Regions from separate parts of the Homo sapiens genome. Here region 2 is linked to region 1. The links are contacts of gene promoters, found by promoter capture Hi-C in human tissues and cell types (Jung and others, 2019). All regions are on one chromosome and are shown on one strand. Each heading gives the region's core, a stretch centred on a gene start or on the middle of the fragment in contact. The rest is flanking DNA. Distances are from core to core; before and after follow the strand shown.

Evidence for each region. Contacts are between HindIII fragments. The study calls those that stand out against the background at their distance.
Region 2: a fragment that was not itself captured here is called in contact with the fragment with the promoter of ELFN2 in region 1 in 1 of the 25 tissues and cell types used here (IMR-90 fibroblasts).

The regions. Positions count from the first base shown.
Region 1 is chr22:37,425,324-37,430,766 of GRCh38, forward strand. It overlaps ELFN2 (extracellular leucine rich repeat and fibronectin type III domain containing 2), which reads right to left and starts at 2,156. Exons shown (of 3, transcript NM_052906.5): 1 at 1,975-2,156. The HindIII fragment of the contact is 24,898 bases long and covers 1-5,443 here.
Region 2 is chr22:37,384,151-37,390,119 of GRCh38, forward strand. The region is part of intron 2 of ELFN2 (extracellular leucine rich repeat and fibronectin type III domain containing 2); the gene reads right to left. Among named protein-coding and RNA genes, the nearest start is that of ELFN2, 40 kb to the right of the region's middle. RefSeq lists an enhancer at 1,888-2,426. The HindIII fragment of the contact is 7,073 bases long and covers 1-5,969 here.

The DNA of each region.
Region 1 (5,443 bases), core at 906-3,405:
AGTCCTGGAAGGTGCACTCTTCAGGGGGCAGGACTTAAGGAAAGGGGTCCCATGCCCACTCAGGATGCTGGGAAAGGCGGCCTCTTGGGAGGGACCACGCCACGCGTCCTAAGGCTCCATCCCTCTCCCCTTCCCACCCCTCATATACAAGAGACATAACCACACTCGGCCACACACACTCCCGTGACATCACATTTACACACTCTGGCTGGGGGGAGCAACCTCCGACAAAACTGTCCCAGTGACGTCACCTGCGGCCTGGAGCTTATGTCACACCTGAGGTTCTCACTGACCTCACATACATACTTTTTCCTGATGTCCCCACAATTAACACTCTTTCTTCCTGCCTAGGCGTTGATGGCCCAGAGGTACCCACCTCCCCACCCACACAGTTGCAGGGCCCCCGGCTCATCAGGACAGCACCTGCCTGTGCACCCCTCTCAGGGGACACACATGCCCACATGCTTTGCTGATGGCCCAGACGTGACACGTCCCACAGGTGTCCACGGGCCACGAGAACAGGGGTGTCAGCCATGCACATACACATACACACACACACACACACACACACACACTCCCAGTCCCATCTCATGATGCAACTTGCATATTAAAACGCCTCTCGGTAACCGCGCCGGGCAGTCCGCGCCCCACAGCTTCCACCACATTCCTCCAGGTGCTGCCAGCACCCCACTCCCTCCAGCTTTCTGACTCCGACAGCCTGGCCTGCTGATAGCGACAGCCGCAGCCCAGACACACACACACACTCCAGCCCAACACCTGCGTCTCAGCAAGGGACCAAGGCAGTGCCCTCCAGCCGCAGCTGCTGGGTGGGAGGAGTCCAGGGGGAAGGGGCACAGCACAGAGCCCTGAGCTGCAGAAAGTGCCGAGTACCACGTTCCTCCCCAGCTGAGTGCACGGTCAGCACCACTGTCCCCTTCTCGTCTCCCTCCTTGGGCACGCCTGACACACCATGGCCTGTGGCCTCTGTTTTGGACACAAGCTCCCCGAGTGTGCATGCACACGCGCGCGCGCGCACACACACACACACACATCAGCTCCCTTCCCTCCAAACATTCCGAGGAAATCCTGCCAGGCCACTGACAGTGTGCGTGTGTGCGCTTGTGTGTATACAGACAGAGAGCAGGGTCCACCCCATGTCCACACACACACGCACACACCACACACACACAGCACGCACAATCCTCTCCACATGCACACGGCGCCCCACCAGCCAACACACCCACCCCCTCCCCGTCCCCTGACAGCTGCTGGAGCCCACACACGCACGCACACACACACACTGGCACGCGCTCGCACACACACACAAACACACACACACACACACACCCGGCAGTGGCCCCGGCCCTGCCAGAGCTGCAGTGTCTGCGATTTATGCCGCCTCCCTGGGCTGCCTCCCTCCTTGTCCCTGGCCAGCGCCTCTGAAAGGGTCCCCACCCCCCAATTCTGGTCTTACCAACCCCACCGCCGTCAAGCCCCACCCTGGCCCCCCTTCCCCTAGAAGGCATCCACCCCGTCAACCCCTCTTACCAGCTAGAGGATGAATGCCTTGACCCGGCAGCACCCCGTGAAAGAGAGGGGTTAGGGCCCCCGATTCGAAAAGATGAGGGCAGAGAGGTGCAGTGTGGCACCGGCTGGCACACCGTCCACCATCGAGCCTCTGCACCACCCCCAGAAACGCTCACCTCACCGACCGTCCTCGGTGTCCTCCCACCGCCTCCGCCCACCGCCACCACCACCACCTCCCTCGCGCAGGGTGGTCCCCCGGGGGTCTCACGGGGATCCCCAGACCCAGGAGACACTGGGGGTGGCTCTCCCCGTCTCATCCCCCCTTCCGTGTCCCTCTCCAAGCCCCACCCCCACTGACGGAGGGGGTGCCCTCCGGCTCCAGCCCCGACTCCCACCGTCTCCCCGGTCGGTCGGTCGCGGCGCTCGGATCCAGAGGAATTCACTTACCCCAGCCCCAGCCGGGATCCGGGCCAAGCACCGCCTCCGGGAAGCGGCGGCCGCGGGGCCTGCGCGTGTGAGTGTGAGTGTGAATGTGAGTGTGAGCGCGGGTGTGGGTGCGGGGTGCGTGGCCGTGGGGTGGCCCGCGTGTGTCTGTGTGTGTGTCTGGGAGCGCGCGTGTGCGCGCAGACGCCGCCGCCCCCTCCTCCCCGCCGCCGCGCCTCTGCCCCTGCCTCGGCGGGGAGGGCGCCCGGGAGGGGCCAAGCGGCGCGCGTCAGGGACCGCGGCAGGCTGTGTCCGTCTGTCCGTCCCCGTCTGTCCGTCCGCCAGCCCGCCCGCTCCCGGTGCCCTCCGCAGGCCTTTCCGCAGCAAGCCCGCTCCCGCCCCCGAGCCGGCCGCACGCTCCACGGACACACGCGCGCTCGCAGACACACGCCCGCGGGGCTGGGGCCGCGCCTGGCGCCGCCGCTGCAGCTGCAGCGCCCGGGGAGGCGAAGGCGGCCCCACGGACCCGAGCCCCGGCCTGGCGGACCCCTGTCCCGGCCGCGGCCCCCTGCGCTGCTCACCCCGCGGGATCCGGGTCCGGGTCCGGGTCCGGCCTCCGCCAGCGCATTCAACAGCTGGGGGCAAACTTGCGGCGGGGCCGCCCGAAGTGCGCCTGGACTCGCCCTCCCCCTGGACTCCGCCTCCGCTGATGGGCCCCCTCTCCGCCTTGTACCTCCATGCCCTGCCGCCTGCGCCCTGCTGGTTGGTCCCGCGTTCAACCGCTGGCGACTGGGGAAGTGCGGCTGCTGCGTTCCCATTTTACAGGCCAGACAACTGAGGTTCGGAGAGGAGTGATTCCCCCAAGGTTACACAGGGAGCCTACAGACAGTATTAGACTTTACGCTCCCCTACCTTGTGCCAGGGCACTCACTGCCTTTCCCCACCCCTCCAGGAGTAGGTCCAAGGGATACTGGGCTCATCTGTAGCTAGAGAACCTTCATTAGCCTTCCAGAGGCCCAGTTCCCCGCCCCTTACGCCAAAGCCCCTGCCACCTGCTGCCACCTGCAAAGGGGTGGATGCTGGGAGGAGGAGGAGGAGGTGGAAGATGCAAGAAGCCTGGCACCCGGGGCCTATAACTTGGTGCTTGGGCATGCAAGCACCTCCTCCCGAGGCCCTGCGAGCTGCATGTCGGAGGCCTGCTGCCAGCAGGCCCTGTACTTCTCCATCACTTTTATAGGACCGCATGCACCAGCGCCTGTTCTCAGGTGTTGCACAGCAGATGAAGTCCAGGCTGCGGGAACTCCCCGTCGGGACATCTCATGCAGGTCTGGAATAAGGAGACTCCCCAGAAGAAGCCACTGCCTGAGCTGAATCTTGATGGATGAGTAGGAGTTGGCCAGCTAAAGAAGGAGGAGAAGGGTGTCCTGGACTCTGGGAACAGCATGTGCAAAGAGGCACAGAGGCATGAAACAGCTTTGTATGTGTGTACAGGGAACTCCACGGAGTTGGGTATTAGTAGAGCAGAAAGAACGTCTGTCCAGAAATTCCTCCCTCCTTTCAACTAAGAACAGGGAACGGCCCAGGATGGGGCTGGGAGGGCAGACAAGCACTGGGTCACAGGCCACTTGTTGTCCTGGGGTATGCAGAAGGACTATTGGGCGTTCCCCACCTGCACCCCAGGCTGCCTGGCACACTCCTACCCATCCTTCAAGGTCCCTCGCTGCAAACCCAAACAAGCCATGTGCTGTCTCTGCCCTCTAAACTGAGCCCTCCTACAGGGCAGGGGCGGTATCCAACACATGGTGTGTATCCCTGACAAGGCTGGGCAAGAAGCAGGGTCCCAGCTCCAAGACCTTGCTGGAAGAGCCCCTCAGGCGGAACATAACGGCCTCTGCGCCCTCTGGCGGATCCCTCGAGAAATTAGAGTGCTCCCCAAGCCAACAGCCCCCCTGTGGCTCTCAGGCCCAGACACTTTCTGAGATGGGCACTGGCAGATGCCACCTAATCCGCTCCTGCCCAAGAAACTGAGCAGTGATGACCCCAAAGAATACCAGGGAGTCAGTGGCAAAACAGCCTCTTGCTGCTCTGTTTCCGAGACATTCCCAGTCATCTTCCAGAGTGCAAGTCACAACCCTCTCTGAGCCTGTTTCCTCCTTTGTGAAAGAAATATAGCAAAAGCAGCCAGTACCCCCAGCACAGTGCCGGCCACTCCCTTCTCCCTGGAGACCTCCAGGTCTGGCTGGATTTGGTCAGAATTTGTTTGAAGCTCTAAAACGGTCTAAGAATCTCCCTTTGGAGACTTTGCCCTTACTGGGCAGATGTACATTGACAAGAGTTTCAGCTCTTAGCTGACTTTCTGCCACCATATAGAAGATAGAGTTGGCCTGGCCTGAGGGTCATAGTGGACCACACCATCTAGACACTCGACTGGGCTTTCTCTAGACCATAGTGGAAAGGATACATGTCTGCACTGTCAAAGACAGTAGCCACTAACTGCATGTGGCTATTGAGTGATTGGAATTGTGGCTAATGTGGCTGAGGAACTAAATTTTTAATTTTAATTGTTATTACTTTAAATTTAAATAGCCATAATGTGGCTTGTGGCTGCCATGTGAGATAGTGCAGCTCCAGACATATAGCAAGCTCCTTATTAAAATCAAGCCCAGGCAGACCTAATGCACACACACAAACACACAGACACACACACAGGGAACCCTGAGGACCTGGGAATGCGGGGAGCGGGGAGCTCAGGAGACTGCCTAGAATCCGTAGCTGAATGGTTAAGACCGAGACAAACGTAAGCAATAACATGTCCATTCCCACAGTCACTGCCCCAGACCAGGCTTGCCGTCACCTGGATACCTGCAACAAACTCCCTCACCACCCATCTGTTTAAACCCTCCAGTAGCTCCCCAGAGCCCATGCACAGAGGCAAATATGTTCTCTTTCTCATGACAAGTGATTGGCAGCAGCTGCCTAGAGGTGCTCACCCTTTGCAGAAAATGGCATGATCAATTGGTGATGTCTGCCTCAGGAATAAATACAGAGATGAATGGTAAGCCCTCTCTGCTACAGGATAAAATCCAAACACTATTTATTTATTTATTTTAGAGACAGTGCCTCTCTCTGTCACCCAGGCTGGAGTGCAGTGGTGCAATCTCCACTCACAGTGGTGCAACCTCCGCTCACTGCAACCTCCGCCTCCCAGGTTCAAACTATTGTCCTGCCTCAGCCTCCCAAGTAGCTGGGATTACAGGCACCCACCACCATGCCTGACTAATTTTTGTATTTTTAGTAGAGACGGGGTTTCCCCATTTTGGCCAGACTGGCCTCAAACTCCTGAGCTCAGGTGATCTTCCTGCTTCAGCCTCCCAAAGTGCTGGGATTACAGGCATGAGCCACCGCACCTGACCAAAACTCCAAACTCTTTAACTTGCCTAAATAAGGCCCGTTGCAGTTGGTCCTTATTTATTCCTCCAGCATCTTCAATATC
Region 2 (5,969 bases), core at 1,952-4,451, 40 kb before region 1:
GGCAGGGGGTGGAAGGTTTTACCAAAGGTCTTGGCCTTGGCAAACCACCCTGTGGCCTGACAGGAGACACCTGAGCCTGGTTCTAGGGGCAGCTGTAACCACATGGCCCGTGAGCAGGGCCCACTCCCTGGCAAACCCCCACCCCAGCCCACCCACCACCAGGCACCTGGGGATAGGATTGTCCCACAGCCAAGGATGACCTGTATTAAAAACCCACCTCCTGGCTTTCCCAGAATCCTCCAAGCTACTCAGGAGACTGCCTCCCTCACCCCTTCTCTCCCCAACCTGGCCTTTACCTCTCCTCCCCTGGATCCCACCTCCCCCATGGACTGTGCCTCCCACACCTGATCCCACCTTCCCAACCTGACCCCTGGCCTCATCCCATTTGACCCCACCTCCCCACCCCCCACGACCTCTAGCCACTCCCCACTTGCCCTTGCCTCCCCCACCTGACCCTGCCTCCCCCACCTGACCCCTACCTTCTCCCCACCCGACCCCTGGCCTCTCCCCACCTGACCCCGCTTCCCACTCCCAACCCCTGCCCTCTCCCCACCTGACCCCGCTTCCCACTCCCAACCCCTGCCCTCTCCCCACCTGACCCCAATTCCCACTCCTGACCCCTGCCCTCTCCCGACCTGACCTTCGCCTCCCCCCGGCCCCTGCTGGCCCCCTCAGCTGCAGCCCCTGGGCACTACTCACCAGTGTCCACTGGACCCGCTCTTTCACCAGTGCCTGCGCAGCACGGCTGCCTCTGCCTGCATGGCCTCCATTCATTCATTCAATAAACATTTATGGAGCACCTACTATGTACCAGGCGCCGGCTAGGCCCGCCCTCCTGGCTCTGCCTCCTCCACCTGCTCCTCCCCCAGGGTCCCAAGGGGCGAACGCTTCCCTGCCCTCCAGTACCCTCAGGGCTGTCCCAAGACAGGGGCAGTGCATGTGGGGACCGCAAGGGGGAAATGGAGGCTCCAGTGTCGGACAGCGAAGCCCCCTGAGAGGTAGCCCGGGGAGGGATGGGCGGCCTCCGACAAGATGAAAAGTCTTCAGTGCTTGCACTGGCTGGGCCTCCGCACTTCCCATATTAACTCATTTAATCCTGAGCCAACTTTAAACATCTTAAAAGCACTATCACTATTCCCACTTTGCAGATGAGGAAACTGAGGCCTCACAACTGCTACACAGTGGCTTCCAGCCTCCACGGCCCCAGGCTCCGTTCAAGAGCTGCTGTGGGATCCTGTTTCATCTGGATGGTGGTTTTCACATTTTTTTAATCAGTTGCCAATATTGAAAACTTGGCAGATTTTATTTCAAAAATCCTCATTTCTGGAATCCACTGAGATACAGGGAAGATCTGGCTTCCCTGGGTCTGCGTCCCCGGAGGCACAGCAGTGGCACAGGCCGGGGCAGCATCCAACCTCCTCCCTGCCTCTCTGGTTTAGGTGGCCAGCTGACCCCTGCACACTGGAGTTTATGAGGCCAGCAACAAGGGGGGAACCCCAGAGTGGGGACACGTAGAAACCCAGCCTGTCAGGGGTATTCCTATGAGCCTCTCAGCCTGGGACCCAAGGGTGCCCCGATCCCTGCCTCCTGTACTTGACCCCTGCCTGACCTCGAGCCCCCCTCCCCTATCCTCCTGACCCATGGCTCCTGGGTTTTAGTACCAGGATACTAACAGCATGGATCGGTCATTTAGGGAGGGAGGTCTCCAGTTATGAGTCTGGGGCTCAAGGATTCTAGGATGTATCTACCATTTATTTGGTCCTAAAAGTCTCCTGTGTCTTGGCCTCTGTGGGTCACCAATTCTACAGGACTTTAAGCTGTCCTGACCCTCTGACAGCTTCCCCTTGGCTCCATGCGGCCCCACTGGGGAGAGGTCCCCAACCAAGGGAGTTCCCACACAGCCACCCCAGGCCCACCTGTCACCTTGTGGGGCCCACTTCTCTCCTGCCTGGGTCAAGTTTGGGACTCCTACTGGGGTTTGAGGGTTACCCTCTCCCAAACATTATTCCCACCCCACAGAACACTGCCAGCTGGCCTAGCCTAGGTGCTGTTTCCAAGCATGGCCACTGTGGACACCAGGAGACCTGAGTTCCTGAAGCCACACCACAGCTCACCAAGGGGCCCTGGGGTTTCTGGAATGGCTCCTTGGTCCCACCCCTCTCCCCATGGACTCCCTCACTCTGCTCACCTAGGACTGGGACACCTGCCTGCTACGCCCCCAGCCCCCTGTCCCTAGCATGGCCCAGCACCCAGGGTCCTGGAGCCCTCTAGGCCCAGGCTGAGAAACCCCTCCTGAGGCCACAGCCCATTCAGCTTCTGTCGCTTCAGAACCTCTAACCAGGCGATCGCAAGGGGTCAGTATGGACACCAGCTGGGGTGGCCCAAATTCCCTCCCCCTGGCCCTGAGACCAGCTTTCTCCAGAGGAGGTGGGAGGGTCCAGCCCACACTGACGGCCGCCTCTGAGGCTACGGGGGGCCTGCAGCTGCAGCAGCAGAGAACAAGGAGGCTCTGTCGGTGCAGAGGGGTCGACATCGAGCCCCGGAAACTCCCCGGGGAGGGCCGCCGGCTGGGCAGAAACCACAGCCCAAACGTGAGGCTATCTATGTGACAGCTGCTGTGGCCACCAACTCCGCGTGGCCAGTCCACCAAGACCGGCCCTCCCTAACGTGCTGCCAAAGCGCAGGGTCCACATTCAGCTCGAATCCAGGCTATGCCACCTCACCCCGTGGTCCTGGCAAGCTAATCTGTCCTGGGTCTCGGTTTCCTCTTCTGTAAAGTGGGACAAGAAGGGCACCAGCTCAGAGGGCCGTGGAGGGGGATGGCCACAGGCCAGGGTCTGGGCAGGGTCACAGCTCCAGGAAGCTGCCTCCTGCAGGTATCGCTGTGAGGGTCTGGCGCGTGGCACCGTGGCACACGCCAGGCAGGCAGGAGGACCTCATTACCCACCGCAACCATGACAGTGAGGAAGGATGGGGCCTGGCCTGTCTTCCTTTCAGTCCCGAGGGCAACACACCCCTCTTTGCCTCTGTCCCTGTCCCCTCTCTGATGTCCAGGCCCCCCAATAGCCTGCTCCCACCCCCACCTTCAGCCTGTTCCCCGGCCTCGGTTTCTCTCCCAGCGCCAAAGCACAATGGCTGTTATAATTAACGAATTATCTCAGCGTGACAGCTGTGGTCCTTTGAAAATTAGCTTGAATAACAAGATCCTGGTGTATGGTAATTTATTTTCCTCTTTCTCCCCCCTTCTCTCTCCCTCACTTCAGCCTTGTCATGCATGCAAATGTTTTTCCCCTTTTCCTCCTTCCCTGACACCTTCCCCCTCTGTAGCCTCCTCGTCCTCCTCAGGAGGGTAAGGGACAGACTAAGCTTCTGCCTTCAGGTGAAAAGATGCAGGAGCTGACCCTCCTGGGCACCTCGTCCGCGCTGGTGCCAGGCACAGCGCCTGACATGTCGCCTTCTGAAATCTCCCCACAGACCTAAGTCCTGCCACCTTCTTCCTGGGCTGGGGACCTGCAGCTTTGCTTTCCCGCGACCTCCCAGGCCGCGGCCCCTCGGGCTCCTCTGCTTGTAAGCCAAGCAGTGGCCTCCCCTGATGTCCTGGTCCCTGCTCACTGCCTCTCTCAAACCCGCTTCCCCCTCCCCTACCCCAAGAGCCCTTCAACCCTTCCCAAGGCTTCTAATGTCAGCTCTGGGCTGACCACACCCAAACCACCGTACCCAGCTGCCTCCGGGGCCCTTCCCTGGCACCTGAAACTCACTCGTCCATGTCCACCTCCACGGCTGGACTCATCTCCCACGGCCCCTTCCCCCTCCTCCCCTGCTTCTCTCCCAGTTCCCAGACACAGTGAGAGGCACCCACACCTCCCCACCTGCCCCTAGTCCCGCCTTGGTGCCGCCGCCTCCCCCTACTGCTCCTGCTGGTCTCTCTACCTCCAACCCTACCTCCCCACTCCATGCCCCCTCCACCCAGCAGAAGATGAACTTTCTAGAACATCAACCTGAGCATGGCACTCCCTGCTGAAAAGTCTTCGTTGGCTCGGGCTGATCTGGGAAAATTCCAACAGCATCCAGAGCCCAGCCCACATGGTCTTGTGGGAGCCGCTGCCTGTTCTGCCCTCCTACCTGCCTGCCTTCTTCCAACCTGGCCGGGGTCTCTCCTGTGGGTTCCCACAGCCCCCTGTGCTTCCTCCATCACAACCGGAATCATAACTGCTGCTGCTACCTCTGGACTGAGTTCCCCGAGGAAGGGTCCTGCTTCTCCTAGTAGGTGCTCAATAAATATTTGTTCATGGCTGAGTGAAGGAGGCCAGCTCGCCGCCCTCATATAGATAAGGAAATCGAGGCTCCAAGTAATTCATGACTTGCTCAGATCACACAGTTCATGCAAAAGACAAAACCAGGATTTGAACCAGGTCTGTGACTCCAGTGCTCTTCTGGGCTCTTCTGCTCCCTGGGGAAGTCGGGGAGGGGTCAGCTTTTGCACAGATCTCAGGGGACTTCAGCCTCCCTCCAGCCTCAGTTGGGCAATAAAGAGACCAGCTTCTAGCCTAGGCTGTCACTCCCTTGAGTTTGACCTTGGACTAGCCACATGACTCTCAGGGCCTCAGTCTTCTCATCTGTAAAGTGGGAAGGAGCCCCGCCTCACTCTCTATCCCAGAGGGTGGCTGATAGGGCAGAAACTCAGGTCTTGGAGAAAGCCAGTCCTGCTAACATCTGGGATTTTCCTGACCTCACCCTCCAAATCCAACTGCATTGCCCTTGGCAGGCACTCCCCGGGGCTTCGTGGGGGGCGTCCCCAGGATGGGAGAGGTCACAGAGAATAGGAACTCTTTCAGGGGGAGGTAGTGGGAGAAGCATGCGGGGCTTGGGAGTCAGATTATGACCTTGGGCAAGAGCTTCCTCTCAGAGCTTGGCGTCCTCCTCTGTCAATTGGGGCCACAATGAGGACTAATGTACACAGTGCCTGGCACAGTGCAGGTGCTGCCAAGGCCACATGGCTGCAAGGTTCTATGGGAATGTGATCCTGAAGTGTGCCCCAGAGAGGGAGAGAGAAGAGGGTGAGACAGAGCAGGACCAGCTGTTCCTGACTCTCCCTCAACAGCCCACAATGGCTCCCACTGGCCCCAGAATAGAGCTCACAACCCAACCTGTGGCCCTAGAACCCCTCTCTCCCTCTCTAAGCTCACACCCCACCATGTCCCCTCGCAACCCTATGGAATTGAGGGCACGCCCACACCCATATCCACCAGGCCGTTACTCACCAGCGATTAGCTGGTACTAACCCTGGGACCCATTCCCACCTGTCCCCATCCCCTGGGCCGAGACCTTATGCCTCCTCCTCTGAGAAGCCTTTGGAGATCTCCCTTCTGCAGGGTGACCCCCCTGCTATGCCCCCACAACCCCGAGGTATAGCCCTTGGAATCCTGGATGGGTCCTAGAGATCATCTCCCCCATTTTACAAGTAGGGGAAACTGAGGTGCGGACGAGGAACAGCAGCTCTCCAGTGATGCACTTGAACCCGGGTCTCTGCTGCATCCAGCCCACCAAGCAGCTTCTCTCCTGGTGCTGAGCTGTTTAGCCCTTGCCTGTCTTCTCCATGCCCCCTCCCCTGCCTGGAGCTACCTGAGGACAGGACCCCATCTTCCTGTCTGCGCCCCTCCCCCAGTGCCCAGCCTAAGGCCTGGCGCATAGTAGGCACTCAGTAAATGTCTGTTGAATTGAATTGCGCTCAGGGCGGCCAGTCGTCTCTGCTCTGTAAGAAAAGCATAGAGTTAGTGGAGCTCTCCCCAAGACCAGGGGGGTGGGAACCAAGCTGGTGGGGTGAGGAACCTGGCCTGCCCCAAGGAGCCCACGGGCCCTGGGGAGGGGGCCTGGGAAGCTGGAACATTCAGACTTAGATGAGTCCGAATTCTGCCCCAACAGGCTGCATGGCTCTGGTAAGTCACACTGCGGCAGGGCCTCACTGGCCT